Regions from separate parts of the Homo sapiens genome. Here regions 1, 3, 4 and 5 are each linked to region 2. The links are contacts of gene promoters, found by promoter capture Hi-C in blood cells and fetal thymus (Javierre and others, 2016). All regions are on one chromosome and are shown on one strand. The core of a region is centred on a gene start or on the middle of the fragment in contact, and the rest is flanking DNA. Distances in the headings are between cores, read along the strand shown.

Evidence for each region. Contacts are between HindIII fragments. The CHiCAGO score rates a contact against its expected background, and 5 or more counts as called.
Region 1: a contact is called between the fragment with the promoter of WAS here and the fragment with the promoter of OTUD5 in region 2, in 4 of 17 cell types (non-activated CD4 T cells, activated CD4 T cells, M1 macrophages and 1 more). The highest score is 7.0, in non-activated CD4 T cells.
Region 3: a fragment that was not itself captured here is called in contact with the fragment with the promoter of OTUD5 in region 2 in 1 of 17 cell types (non-activated CD4 T cells); the score reaches 5.1 in non-activated CD4 T cells.
Region 4: a fragment that was not itself captured here is called in contact with the fragment with the promoter of OTUD5 in region 2 in 1 of 17 cell types (neutrophils); the score reaches 6.1 in neutrophils.
Region 5: a contact is called between the fragment with the promoter of EBP here and the fragment with the promoter of OTUD5 in region 2, in 2 of 17 cell types (neutrophils and naive CD4 T cells). The highest score is 7.7, in neutrophils.

What each region holds. Positions count from the first base shown.
Region 1 is chrX:48,682,416-48,685,115 of GRCh38, forward strand. WAS (WASP actin nucleation promoting factor) reads left to right here and starts at 1,384. Exons shown (of 12, transcript NM_000377.3): 1 at 1,384-1,570; 2 at 1,868-2,008. The coding sequence starts at 1,439. The HindIII fragment of the contact is 18,512 bases long and covers 1-2,700 here.
Region 2 is chrX:48,956,296-48,958,995 of GRCh38, forward strand. It overlaps OTUD5 (OTU deubiquitinase 5), which reads right to left and starts at 1,312. Exons shown (of 9, transcript NM_001136157.2): 1 at 682-1,312. The coding sequence starts at 1,275. RefSeq lists silencers at 929-988, 1,359-1,408, 1,609-1,768 and an enhancer at 1,869-2,058. The HindIII fragment of the contact is 4,109 bases long and covers 1-2,700 here.
Region 3 is chrX:49,238,964-49,241,663 of GRCh38, forward strand. All of the region lies in intron 2 of CCDC22 (CCC complex scaffolding subunit CCDC22), which reads left to right. Among named protein-coding and RNA genes, the nearest start is that of CCDC22, 4.8 kb to the left of the region's middle. The HindIII fragment of the contact is 1,720 bases long and covers 437-2,156 here.
Region 4 is chrX:49,273,924-49,276,623 of GRCh38, forward strand. All of the region lies in intron 1 of PPP1R3F (protein phosphatase 1 regulatory subunit 3F), which reads left to right. Among named protein-coding and RNA genes, the nearest start is that of PPP1R3F, 5.5 kb to the left of the region's middle. The HindIII fragment of the contact is 1,188 bases long and covers 703-1,890 here.
Region 5 is chrX:48,520,558-48,523,257 of GRCh38, forward strand. EBP (EBP cholestenol delta-isomerase) reads left to right here and starts at 1,251. Exons shown (of 5, transcript NM_006579.3): 1 at 1,251-1,350. It overlaps PORCN (porcupine O-acyltransferase), which reads left to right. Exons shown (of 15, transcript NM_203475.3): 15 at 1-251. RefSeq lists silencers at 92-151, 1,066-1,295, 1,356-1,535. The HindIII fragment of the contact is 9,622 bases long and covers 1-2,065 here.

The DNA of each region.
Region 1 (2,700 bases), core at 134-2,633, 270 kb before region 2:
AAAGGGGTCAGAACAGTGACTGGCACACACGTTAAGTGCTATGTGAGTGTTAAGATAAAACTAGGATGTCCAGTGGGGAGAAAGCAAGCCTTTGAAGATTATGTGCTTTTACAAACTTCAAGTGCAATGAAAACTAAACAAGATGTTGTTCAGGCATTCATATATGATATAAAGTTCCTTTCTTTAAAAAAGGGATGGGCTGGGCACGGTGGCTCACGCCTGTAATTCTAATACTTTGGGAGGCCGAGGCAGGTGGATCACGAGGTCGAGAAATCGAGACCATCCTGGCCAACATGGTGAAACCCTGTCTCTACTAAAAATACAAAAAAATTAGCTGGGCGTGGTGGCGTGTGCCTGTAGTCCCAGCTACTTGGGAGGCTGAGGCAGGAGAGTCACTTGAACCCGGGAGGCAAAGGTTGCAGTGAGCCGAGATCGTGCCACCGCACTCCAGCCTGGCGACAGAGTGAGACTCCATCTCAAAAAAAAAAAGAAAAAAAAAAGTATGACAAGCAGAAAGTAATTTGGGAGCTGCGGGGAGGCAAGGGTAAGGGATGGGGAAGTGGACCAGAGGCATATGCGTCATTGGCAGTGTCTAAGCACTCACGATAGGCGTGGATCACAGGGGCTCGCTCTGTAATTAAAAGGAAAAGGGTTTTTGTTGTGTTGTTGTTGTTGCTGTTTTTGAGACAAGGGTCTTGCTCTGTCATCATCCAGGCTGGAGTGCAGTGGTGCAGTCTCAGCTCACTGCAACCTCCGCCTCCTGGGTTCAAGCGATTCTCCTGCCTCAGCCTCCTGAGCAGCTAGGACTACAGGTGTGTGCCACCATGCCTGGCTAATTTTTGTATTTTTTAGTGGAAATGGGGTTTTGCCATGTTGCCCAGGCTCGTCTTGAACTCCTGACCTCAAGTGATCCACTCGTCTCGGCCTCCCAAAGTGCTGGGATTACAGGTGTGAGCTATTGTCCCCAGCCAAAAGGAAAAGTTTTACTGTAGTAACCCTTCCGGACTAGGGACCTCGGGCCTCAGCCTCAGGCTACCTAGGTGCTTTAGAAAGGAGGCCACCCAGGCCCATGACTACTCCTTGCCACAGGGAGCCCTGCACACAGATGTGCTAAGCTCTCGCTGCCAGCCAGAGGGAGGAGGGTCTGAGCCAGTCAGAAGGAGATGGGCCCCAGAGAGTAAGAAAGGGGGAGGAGGACCCAAGCTGATCCAAAAGGTGGGTCTAAGCAGTCAAGTGGAGGAGGGTTCCAATCTGATGGCGGAGGGCCCAAGCTCAGCCTAACGAGGAGGCCAGGCCCACCAAGGGGCCCCTGGAGGACTTGTTTCCCTTGTCCCTTGTGGTTTTTTGCATTTCCTGTTCCCTTGCTGCTCATTGCGGAAGTTCCTCTTCTTACCCTGCACCCAGAGCCTCGCCAGAGAAGACAAGGGCAGAAAGCACCATGAGTGGGGGCCCAATGGGAGGAAGGCCCGGGGGCCGAGGAGCACCAGCGGTTCAGCAGAACATACCCTCCACCCTCCTCCAGGACCACGAGAACCAGCGACTCTTTGAGATGCTTGGACGAAAATGCTTGGTGAGCTGGGGATCTCCTGCCCCCGCCCCGTCCCCACCGTTTCTTCCTCTTCCTCTCCTCCTTCTCTCTCTTCCCCTCCTCCCGCTCCTCCTTTCCCTCTCCATCATCTCCTCTCCTAGAATTTCCCGTCATAATCCACCCTTCCCAGGAAGATCTCAATGTCTACTTGCCTTCCCTCTGGCTGCAGCTCTTCCTTTGGGCCCATGACTGTCATGAGGCAGGAAGGACCAGGTCTGGCTCCAAGACCTTGTGGCTACCCCTGACCAGACTCCACTGACCCCTGCTTTCCTCTCCCAGACGCTGGCCACTGCAGTTGTTCAGCTGTACCTGGCGCTGCCCCCTGGAGCTGAGCACTGGACCAAGGAGCATTGTGGGGCTGTGTGCTTCGTGAAGGATAACCCCCAGAAGTCCTACTTCATCCGCCTTTACGGCCTTCAGGTGACCCCCCCACCCCCGACTGGACTTGCAAGCCAGTTCTCAACCCGCAAACCCAGATCTGTGTCCATATGTGTCCATAGCTTCAAGACCTCAGACCTGATCAGTGAATCCCTGAGCCCCAGAACCAAAGACTCATCCAGATGGCAAACTCTGACTTGCCTTTCTAAGTCTGCAATGACTGGCCCCAGTCTCCGTATCAAGATCTCTAAAGCCCCCAGTATTAGTCTGCTGCCTAAGCCTAATCTTTTCCACAAATTCCAATAAATGAGCACTGTATTTGTACCTGAACCTCAAATCTATTCTAAACTCAACATTTTGCATCCCAGGAATCTCTCATCAAAACTCCTGAACCCCAGATGTTTGCCAAGCTCCTAAGTCATAAATCTGTTCAACAAACCCCAAAGTTGAATATTCCATTGATCCTTGAACTCCAAATCTGTCCTTCTAAATCCACAGCACAGACCCCAGAGTTCCCATATTAAAATTCCTGAACACTCAAATACCGAGGTAGTTCTTAAGCAAAAAGTCTTTTCCACAATCCCCTGACCTGAACTTTCTAGGTTTAAGCCCCAAATTCATCCTTTTAAACCCATAAAGATGGACCCAGCATAACTTCCAGATCCCAAGGCTATCAAATATCCACCAAACTCCTAAACCATAACTCTCTCCACAAACCCCAAATTGCACTTACT
Region 2 (2,700 bases), core at 62-2,561:
CTATCCTTAAAGGGGGCGTGTGTGTGTGTGTGTGTGTCAGGACCTTGATTCTAGAAGCAGGACTCTCAGGCCCCTGAAGACAGACTTAGGACCCTTGAGGTCTCAGGTCTGGCTATTCAGTGGTCCTGTGCAGTGTTACCCAGCGAAGCGGGAGAGGATTGTCCTATATGCAGAGTGTCTCAGACTCTTGAAAGGGCTTAGGCTCCTTGGGGATGTTCAGCCCCGATCTCCGAGGTCTCCACCTTATTTGACTTTCCTGGAAGGGGAATCTCAAACTTCTATCCCAGAGGAAAAGAGCTCTTAAGCCACTGAACACATACCTAAGTCTCTTGGGAGACCTGAGACTCCTACTCAAGAGGGGCGCGATCCTACCTGTATCTCTTGGAGAATTCCCACCTATTGGCCCTATATGATGAGGTCCCAGGGACTGGAATGACGACTATAGACCTTAAAAGAGACCTCGGATCTTTAAGTCTGACACCTTACCGTAGGCCTCTAGCCCCAAAATCCTGGAGGGGAGGAAAGAAGGTGTCTCACATCCCTACCGCCAGAGAAGACTGTCAGGCCCAGTGAAAACGCCTAGATCCCTTGGGGCGATCTCAAACAGCCTTCCTTGAGTCCCTTCACAGTCTGGGGGTCCCATCTGCCGTGGCCGCTCACCCCTCACCCCACAGCTCTTACCTGCTCGACAGTGGCAGGGTCCATAGCCTCGATGCGTGCTGCAGCCGCCTCATACTCGTCCTCACTGTTGTAGCCTGCGCCGACCTCCTCACGCTCGGGACTGCCCCCGCCAACCGCGCCAACCCCGGGAGCTTGACGTCGCCGCTTGCTGTGCCCAGGCCCGGAGCAGCAGCCGCCCACGCCTACGGCACCACCCACACCCACCACCACGCCCGCGGCACCCACACCCGCCGCCGCTGCGCCCAGCGCGTCGCCGGGACCGCCGCCGGGACCACCTGGGCCCCCGCAAGGAGGTGGAGAAGCCTGTTGTGGCCGGGGACCCGCCACTGCACCAGGCGGCACGGCCAGCGCCCAGCGATGAAGAGCGCCCGGCGGTCCTGGTAGCGGGCCTTGAGGCGGTGGCGAAGCTCGCGGACGGGCCCCCACGACGCCGGAGTCACGGTCGCGATCGCCGCCGCCCACGCCCGTGCCGCCGCCGCCCACGCCCACACCTCCGCCGCGCCGCGGCGCCGGGGGCATCGGCCCGGGCGGCGGCGGCTCGTTGGCGGGGTCGGCGTCGGGAGGCGGCGGCTTCTTTTTGGGGAGTATAGTCATGGCTGCACTGCCGAGTACCCCCCAACAAACCCGGCGCGGGGCACGCCGGGAGAGAACCCGGATGAGGGGGCTAGTGTAGTGCGCGAGGCACGACGGGAACGGCGAGACCCGGATAAAGGGATCGCGGCACCGGTTCGAGAACCCTCGGCGGCGGAGGAGGCGGCGGCGGCGGCGGCGGCGGTGGCGGCGCGCGGGTCACGCCGAGAGGAGAACCCGGATGTAAAGTCCAAGATGAAGGCAGTGCGGCGAGTTTGTCTTAGCCTTCTCTCCAAGTCCAGCAAGTTTATTGCTACGCTTGTTCCGGCCTTCTGCTTCAAAGGAAACAGAACCAAAACAAGCACCTCTTCGCTCCGCCCCCTCGCAGGTTCTTGCACTACCGGGTGGGGCCCCGGGGCGCTGCGCACGCGCGCCAGGGCACAGCCCCGCCCCTTACTCGGAAGTACGTGGGCAAAATCGCCGCCGCCGCCGCCACAACAATTGCAACACCAACCAATTGAGCAGCTGCGTGGGACCTCGACGACGCCCACGGGCCAATCACAGGCGAGTGCTCGCCCTCCGGTGCCCTCCGTCTCAAATTTCAGTCAAAGTCGACACCCTGGTTCCCAGCCTTTCTCCCCGTCAGTTCCGTCTTGCTCTTCACTTTTCTCCCCGAAGCTCTGACCTGCAGGCGTCGGTACTGCGGACGGACAGCGTGGCCTGTCCCACGTACGACAGGAAAAACACCTCCCCTCCAGGATTCCAACTTGAACGCTGTCAGCCGGAATGACTGGAAAACATCAACACTCCCGGGAGCATAGCTGGCCCCTGTAGCGTCACTTCCGGTCCCACCCACCTACAAATACCCTTCCGGGGGAGGCGGACACCGCTTCGCCCCGGCAACAGCCTGAGTTCTGCGGTGATTGGTTAAGAGACGCCGTCACTCGCGGCATACCGACCAACCTTGGGACAGACAGGCGCCGTGGGGACAGTGGTTGTTTGGGAAACAGACACGCCTTCTCTGGCACCACAGCACTCTCGGCCTCGCGTTGACCTCCCCGCCCCTATGGCTAGTGCGCAGGCGCGGCCCAGCCTTTTTTTTTTTTTTTTTTTTTTTTTTTCCTAATTGAGACAGGGGTCTCACTCTGTCGCCCAGGTTGGAATGCAGTGGCGCGATCATAGCTCACTGCAAACTCCAACTCCCAGGTTCAAGCGATCCTCCCGCCTCAGCCTCCCGAATAGCTGGGACCACAGGCGCGCACCACTACGACCGGCTAATTTTTTTTTCACTTTTTTGTAGGGACAAAGTCTCACTATGTTGCCCAGGCTGATCTCCAGCTCCCGGGCTCAAGCGATCCTCCCGCCTCGGCTTCCCAGAGTGCTGGGATTACAGGCGTTAGTCACCGCGCCTGGCCAAGCCCAGCCTTTTTCTAAAACTGAGTTTGCTTG
Region 3 (2,700 bases), core at 47-2,546, 280 kb after region 2:
CCCCTGGCTCACTCACTCTGTGACTTTGGGCCAGTCTTTTTTTTTTTTGAAGCCCAGGCTGGAGTGCAGTGGCACAATCTCGGCTTACTGCAACCTCCTCCGCCTCCTGGGTTCCAGCAATTCTCCTGCCTCAGCCTGCCGAGTGGCTGGGATTACAGGTGTCTGCCACTGTGCCCGGCTAATTTTTTTGTATTTTTAGTGGAGACAGGGTTTCACCATCTTGGCCAGGCTGGTCTCGAACTCCTGACCTTGTGATCCACCCACCTCAGCCTCCCAAAGTGTTGGGATTACAGGTGTGAGCCACCGCGTCTGGCTCTCTTAACCTTTTTGAGGCTAAGTTTCCACATGTGTAAAATGGGTATAAGAATTGTAGCTACTGTATAGGGTTGCTGTGAGGATTAAACATGAGTTAATGTGTGAAAAGCTGGTTATAATAAGCTTTGCATAAATGGGATTACTATTATTGGATAGGTCCGATCTGGAACCTGTGAATACATAGTGAATGGAAACACTTTGAACTGACCCAGGAAGTATATGGTGGTGGAGGGACGATAGAGTAACTACCGTGAAAACTTTCATTTAGATATAGGGGACTGGGTGGCTAGAGTTGTTAAATTTGGGCCTTGCTTATGCAGTCTCTGTCTCTTAGCAACAGGTCTCAGAGCTCCATCCATCCCTTCGCTCTCAGGTTCACCCAGCTCTCAGGAGTTGTCACATTGTTCTCTCTGGGGCTCTTGGTGGCCTTATGAGGCAGGCAGTCTGTCCCCTGGCCCAGGACTGTATGTATTCTTAAGGTTAGCACTTAATAGGGGGGAAGTTATGTCTTCTGTTTGCAGAGGAGAGTACACAGCAGGAGGTGTTGAGGTGGGGGCTCAGGCTTCCTGCAGTTCTCTGTTCTTCCCTCAGTGCTGTCTCTCTTGGATTTTGTTCACCTGCTTTTGCTTACATTGATTTTAGTGGGGGTTAGTGACTATGGCTTTTCCAGTGGCCAGGAGGTACATGTGGGCTGGGCACGTTGGCTCTTGCATGTAATCCCAGCACTTTGGGAGTCTGAGGTGGGAGGATCAGTTGAGCCCAGGAGCTCGAGATCAGCCTGGGCAACATAGTGAGACCCCCATCTCTACAAAAAATAAAAAAAAAATAGCTGGGCATGGTGGCACACGCCTGTGGTCCCAGCTATGTGGGAGGCTGAGGTAGGAGGATTGCTTGAGCCTGGGAGGTCCAGGCTGCAGTGGGCTGTGATTGCGCCACTGCACTCTAGCTTGGGAAACAGAGTGAAACCCCATCTCCAAAAAAAAAAAAAAAAAAAAGACTGGGGACGGTGGCTCCTGTAATTCCAGCACTTTGGGAGGTGGAGGCGGGCAGATCTCACCAGAGGTCAGGAGTTTGAGACCAGCCTGGCCAACCTGGCGAAACCCTGTCTCTACTAAAAATACAAAAATTAGCCTGGTGTGGTGGTGTGTGCCTGTAATCCCAGCTACTCAGGAGGCTGAGGCAGGAGAATCGCTTGAACCCAGGAGGCGGAGGTTCCAGTGAGTCGAGATTGCACCACTGCACTCCAGCCTGAGCGACAGAGCAAGACTCTTGTTTCCAAAAAAATAAAAAACAGGTACATATGGTTGTCTGGCCCCCAGCAGCCTTGGTTTATCAGCAGCAGGCAAAAGGAGTTCTCTTAATCCAGCTGTGTGCTGTCCCTGTAGCCCCCCCGCAACTCAGCACTGCCATGTTCTGGCATCTTTTCTTCATATGCCCTGCTCCTGGCAACAGTTTCTGCACCTTAGCCACCTCCATATTTTGGCACCTTCCCCACTCCTGGAATGAGTTTCTATATCAGTCACAGCTCTTTGATTGCATATTGTGGAAAAAATCCAAAGTAAAATACCTTAAAAGCCAGTGGTTATACTTATTTGACCTTGAGCCTCCAAAATAAATATATCTTGCATTGTGACCCAGTATACTCCTAAGTATAGAATAATGATGGCTTCTAAGTGTACTCTGTGCCAGGCCCTGTGGTAAGTAACATGGTGTTAACTCATTTAATTCTCAGGACAACCTTCTGCTATATGTACTGTTGGTATACCCTCTTTCAGATGAAGAAAGTGAAGCACAGAGGGATTAAGTGATCTGCCTGAGGTCGTATAGTTGGTAAGAGGCAAAGCTTGGGTTTGAATCCAGGAAGTCTGCTTTCAGAGTCTATGCAGTTCCAAAGCAGTGGCAACTCTGGAAGAAAAAGGCTTTCCTAGGCCGGGTGTGGTGATTCCCACCTGTAATCCCAGCACTTTGGGTGGCTGAGGTGGGCAGATTGCTTGAGCCCAGGAGTTTGAGACCAGCCTGGCCAACATGGTGTAGCCCTGTCTACACTGAAAATACAAAAATTAGCCGGGTGTGGTGGCATGCACCTGTAATCCCAGCTACTCGGGAGGCTGCGTGGGAGGATCACTTGAGCCCAGGAGGCAGAGGTTCCAGTGAGCCAAGATCACGCTACTGCACTCCAGCCTGAGCGACAGAGCGAGACCCTGTCTCAAAAAAAAAAAAAAAAAAAAAGGAAAAAGGCTTTCTTTCTCTCCTGGCCTGTTTCCTCAGTCCCCATCAGAACCCTCATGAGTCCTTTTGTTCTGAGCTATTGTGCTTCTGGTCTTTTTGTCCTGTTTATTTTTAGGCACTCTTTCTATAATAGGTAGATTTGCTCTTTACCTATGA
Region 4 (2,700 bases), core at 47-2,546, 320 kb after region 2:
TCGACAAGCATTTATTGACTGCCTACTGTGTGCTGGGCACAGTGCTAGGTTCCAGCAGGGAAAGAGATGCAGAGTGGTCCTAAGATGTCACAGGGCTTGTGGGATGGAGTACAGAGGATTTGTTGTATGAGACCTGGCTGAGCCCCTGCTCTTCGCCAGGCACTTCACTGAGTACTATATTTTCATGCAAGGTCTGGTTTAATTCCGACAACATTCCCTGTGAAGTAGAGGGTTTTAAATTTCTCTTTCCTGGATGAGCAAACTGAGGCTCCCAGAGTCCAAAGTCCTAGGGCTGGTGTGGGGAAAAGCCCTCCTGATCTTCCTTGGCACTTGACACTACCCTTTGGAAGTGTCCTATTCTTCTTAAAAGTAAAGACCAAGAGAGCCTCACCATGGTCTTCAAGCACCCTCCCATCCCATTCCCCAATCTGGCCTCCACTGGCTCATAGTCTTAACACCAGTGGTCTTTCTGAGCTCCTGTCACCATGGTCTTTCTGTTACTCCAAAGGGCCTCGCTCCTTTCTGCTGCAGGGCCTTTGCCCCTGCTGTTTCCTTCACCAGGAACATTTATCCCGTACCCCTTGCAGTCTCCTCCAGTGTTGATCCCTCAGTTCTAAGAGGACTTCCCCAGGGGAGCCTGTCCACCCCAGTGTCCTCGGGCCCCTGGCTTTTTCATAGCACTCATCAGCCCAGCACGTGCTAAGCTTTGTTAGAGAATGTCCCATGGCAGAGCAGATGAACATCGCCACCAGTCGAGGGGTCATCGGCCACCCTGCCTAGCAGTTCTACTATATTTTTTTGATCCACTCGTTTCTCCTCTGAAGTGACTCTTTCAAATGTTCTTTACCTTCAGACTTTCTCTCCTGCTTCAAAAAACAAAACAGAAGCCATAAGAATGGAACTCCCTATAACTTGTGGCCCCCAAGTCTGCACGCTGATTTCCCTCCCCTGTGTTACAGATGACGAGGAGTCCCTTCTTGCTCAGGCCACTTCTCCCTCCTGTGCTCTGGGTCCCAGTTTCTGCTACTTGCTCTAGAATCTGACATCATCAGTCACCTTTTCTCTCCTGGCAGGTTTTCTGCTGCCCTCCTTGCTTGATCCTCTATTCACCTTTGCCTGTGCCAGCATCCCTTCTGTCTCCGCTGACCCCACGTTCTCTCCCTCCTGCTTCTGGCCAGCACCTCATCACCCTCCCCTTCACTGCTGACCCCTGCAGAGTTGCCTGTACTTGCCTTCTGCACTTGCTCACCCCCGTAAGTGTTAGCCCCCGGCATCTGCCAGATTCTGCAGGTGGTTTTTTAGTTTTCCTCTTGAAGTGGTTGACCACTCCTACTTAAAACACTTTGTCTTCCCTTGCCTTGAGACCACACTCTGCTGGTTTTCCTCTTAACTCTCTGGCCCTTCTCTTTCTCCTGGCTCTTCCCTTAGCTTCATGTATCCAAACTCGGCATCTCCACTTGACTGATGGCCCAAATAATTCCTCAAACTCACCTTGTCGGGGACTGCATTCATCACCTCTCCCACAGTGTTCCCAAGCAGCCTCTCACTCCCCTACCTCCCCACTTGCTCGTTTTGCTTTTCAGCATCCTTAAGTAAGCCCTGCCTGACCCTGTAGATTGGGCCAGGGACCCTTATTCTAGGGCATTCTTTCCTTTTCTAAAGGCACTGATCGCAGTTTGTAGTTATATCTTTATTAGGGGGTTGCTGGATGACTCTCTGCCCCGCTAGACTGTAAGCTCCGTGAGGGGTAGGGACATGGTCTGCTTTCATTCACCACTGTATTCCTGCAGGCCTGCCACAGTGCCTGGCACTTAGCAGGTGCTCAATAAATGTTTGTTGAAATAATGAGTTTGAGTATTTTTTTAATGTCTTCCTCCATACTGAATTGTAAGCTTCCTAGTTGGGTTTGCTCACCATGGTGTCTCCAGGATCCGTCACTGGGGCTGATGCACAGGAAGGCCCACTGTCTTTCAGTGCACCTATAACTGAAGGGATGGGGATCCAACCTGCTATCTGAGTTGGCAGCCTCAGGGGAAACCAGAATAACTGGAGTTGAACGGGACAAGTCAGGGGCATCTTAGTTTTCTGTAGAGTGAGGAATTAATGTGAACGTGATCCTCTTTTATGCCACAGAAAACTTGGTAGGGCATTATGGTTAAGGACATGGGCCTGAGGCCACGTGCTAAGAAAGTGGCAGAGCTGGGATCTGAGCCTGTGTGGTCCTGCTCTAGTGCTCCAGCTCTTAGCTACTGTACCAGGCTGGGTGATGCATTTTACCAGCAGGGCAACACTGGGCAAGTTGCTTTCCTTTCAGAGCTTCAGTTTCCCTCAATGGAAATTTGGAGGGGGTTACTGTTAAGTGCTTTATAGGTACTTTTCAAATATTTCTTTGATCTGCTGAACAACTCACTGATGTAGGTATTATTATCCCCTCCTTAGAGATGAGGTAACTGAGGCACAGAGAGGTTAAGTAACTTGCCCCAGGTCACACAGCTGATAGGTGGCAGAGCTGGAATTGTTCAAAATTGCATATCCTAACCCTTTATTGAGTTGTGAAATCAATTTACTGGGTTTCAACAAGCATTAAAAAGAAAAAGGAAATAGCATAAGAAATGCCAGTGTATCACCACATGCAGTAAAGGTAAGTATTGTTTCACTCGAAGAACAACCATTTTTCAGTTATTTATATGTCTGTTTACA
Region 5 (2,700 bases), core at 1-2,500, 440 kb before region 2:
TACTCCTTGACCCCCTCCATCCTTGACCCCCAACACCTCAACACACACACACACACACACACACAAAATCACACCATTTTCATGCCTGTCAATCCCCACCCCACCACAAGGCAGGAAGGGGGTGGTGCCTGCTGGGGCCTAGAGGGGGATGCTTGGGGAAACAGAGAAGGGGAGATCCAGGGCCTCCCCGCCTTCCTTCTTCCTTTTTATATACAATTTGTTATTGTCAAATAAAAGTAGGAAATATTCAATAGGCTTCTTCTTCACTGCTCAGAGGGGAATAGGAATGAGTGAGGAAGGGAGCACAGCATGGATAAAGGTTTGGAAGCTGGAAACCATGAAGAGAGAGCAGACTGTGATTGGTTCATGGTTAGTTTATGATTGATTAGATGATGAGCCTGAAGATGGCAGGATCCTGGTCCTGCTTGGTTTGATCAGGGCAGGGACAGATTGCATAGTTGGATGTGGGGGAGGCCTGATTGGCTGGAAAACTGAAGGATCCCCATTCTGATTGGTTGCTCTGAGTGGGACACAGAGGAGAGAAAGCAAGAGAGATGAAGGGTTGGTGCCTATTTATCCTTAGGACTGAGGGTTGTGGGTTCTAATTGGATGGGAGGTCTGGGATGGGTCTGGATTCTGATTGATTGCTCCATCTGGGGGCCCACTGGTGGTTAGGCGTTTGATTGGCTTTTTAGAACTGGCATATGGAGATTGAGGGTCTTCATGCCAATTGGTCAGTAGGACTGAGAGGCCTGGGTTCTAACTAGTTCTTCTGACTTGAGGTCGGGAGAAGAGAGAATGACCGCTGCTATTAGGACTGAGGAGTTCTGAGCACTGAAGAGCTGGGGAGGGGGTGGTTGCAGTGTATAGCGTGTGATCTGCTTGTAACAGTTTCGTTGCATTATACTAAGGGTTACTCTACCTAGAAAAGGGCGGAGGTGAAAGGATGCAACGCAACGCTAATTTCACCAGCGGAAGAAGCGGGTACAGACCTTAATGAGTCCCCGTTTTGATCGACTGATAAGGGAATGGGGAAATTGAAGCCAGGACTCGATGCAGATTGGCTACGGATCCAAAACGCCCACTAACCTTGGCGCGTCCCAGTCTCCACCCCAAACCTAACTCAGGTGAAAATGGCGCCACGCGCGGGGGCGGGGCTAGAGGTACAAAGAGAGTGTCTATTGGTTGGGAGCGGCACGGGCCGCCTTCTTCGCTTCACCATTGGCTCGCTCCGTAAGGCAAGAGAACCCACTAGGGGATGAGCCCGAACTAGGGATGTGACAGAGCGCGAGACCCAGCCTAAAGAGAGCCCGGAGCCAGCGTGGGAGGCCGCTGCCGTCGCGCGCCTTGGTGAGTGCCCTCCACCCGGCCCCTGCTCCCTCCCCCAGCTCTCCCCGGCTACGCGGCCAGCCCTCGGCGTGCCAGCGCGAGACCCTTTGCCACCCGCCCCCCCCACCGCCCTTTTGCGCCTGCGCGAGACCCCCAGCTACCGCACGGTTGTCCAGAGGACAGAAGATCCGTCTTCTCATTGGGCAGCGGGACTGGAGGGTTCTGGTTCGGATTGACCGGCTTTGTGTTCCGTTCTAGCGCTGCACGCCAGACACCGGCCTTTCAATATCCGTCTCTTCCCTGCAGGTTGACGGCGTTGCACGCTCTCGCGGGGAGGCTCTGGCTTTCCAAACGCTGGCACCGAGGGTTGTAGTTCTGATTCGTTTTCTTTCCTCTGTCCCCCAGTTGCAGTTTTCAGGACTACGTGGGGGAGGGAATAGCTTTTTGTTGAACGGTTTAAGACGCTGACCTGTGCAACTGGACCACGCCTGGTTCCTGTGTCTCTTACCAAACCGTGACCCCGGAGCACAGGACTGGGTTTGGTGGTCGTGAGCAGTTTGTGACCCTTGAAGGAAGACACCAGGCCTGGTCCTGTATCTCCCTCGCCAGACTGTGACCAGGGAGGGCTGGGATCAGGTGTTGTTCCCATGTGCCTCCCACCAGACTTTGACCCCCGAGGGCTGAGACCGGGACTGTTTCTACCACATCATAATATGGCTTCTAAAGGGCTGGAACAAGCTTTCAGCCTTTCTGTGGCCTTGTGTTTCAGTCATGTTCTTTTTCTTTTCTTTTTTATTTTATTTTGAGACAGAGTCTCGCTCTGTTGCCCAGGCTGGAGTGCAGTGGCATGACCCCGGCTCACTGCAGCCTCTGCCTCCCAGGTTCAAGCGATTCTCCTGCCTCAGCCTCCTGAGTAGCTGTAACTACAGGCGCACGCCACCACACCTGGCTAATTTTTGTATTTTTAGTAGAGACGGGGTTTTGCCATGTTGGCCGGGCTGGTCTTGAACTCCTGAGCTCAAGTGGTCCACTCGTCTTGGCCTCCCAAAGTGCTGGGATTACAGGCGTGAGCCACCGCGCCCGGCCTTCTTTTTTAGAGGCAGAGTCTCAGACTGGAGGGCAGTGATGTGGTCACTGCTCACTTCAGCCTTGAAGTCCTGGGCTCAAAGCGATCCTCCTGCCTCAGCCTACCTACTAGCTGGGACTACAGGCCTTTGTCACCACACCTGACTGATTTTCTTATTTTTTTAGAGACAGTTTCGCTGTGTTGCCCAGGCCGGACTTGAATTCCTGGCCTCAGGTGCTGCTCCTGCATCAGCCTCCCAAAGCACTGGAATTACCTGCCACGGTGCCTGGCCTTTAGTCATGGTC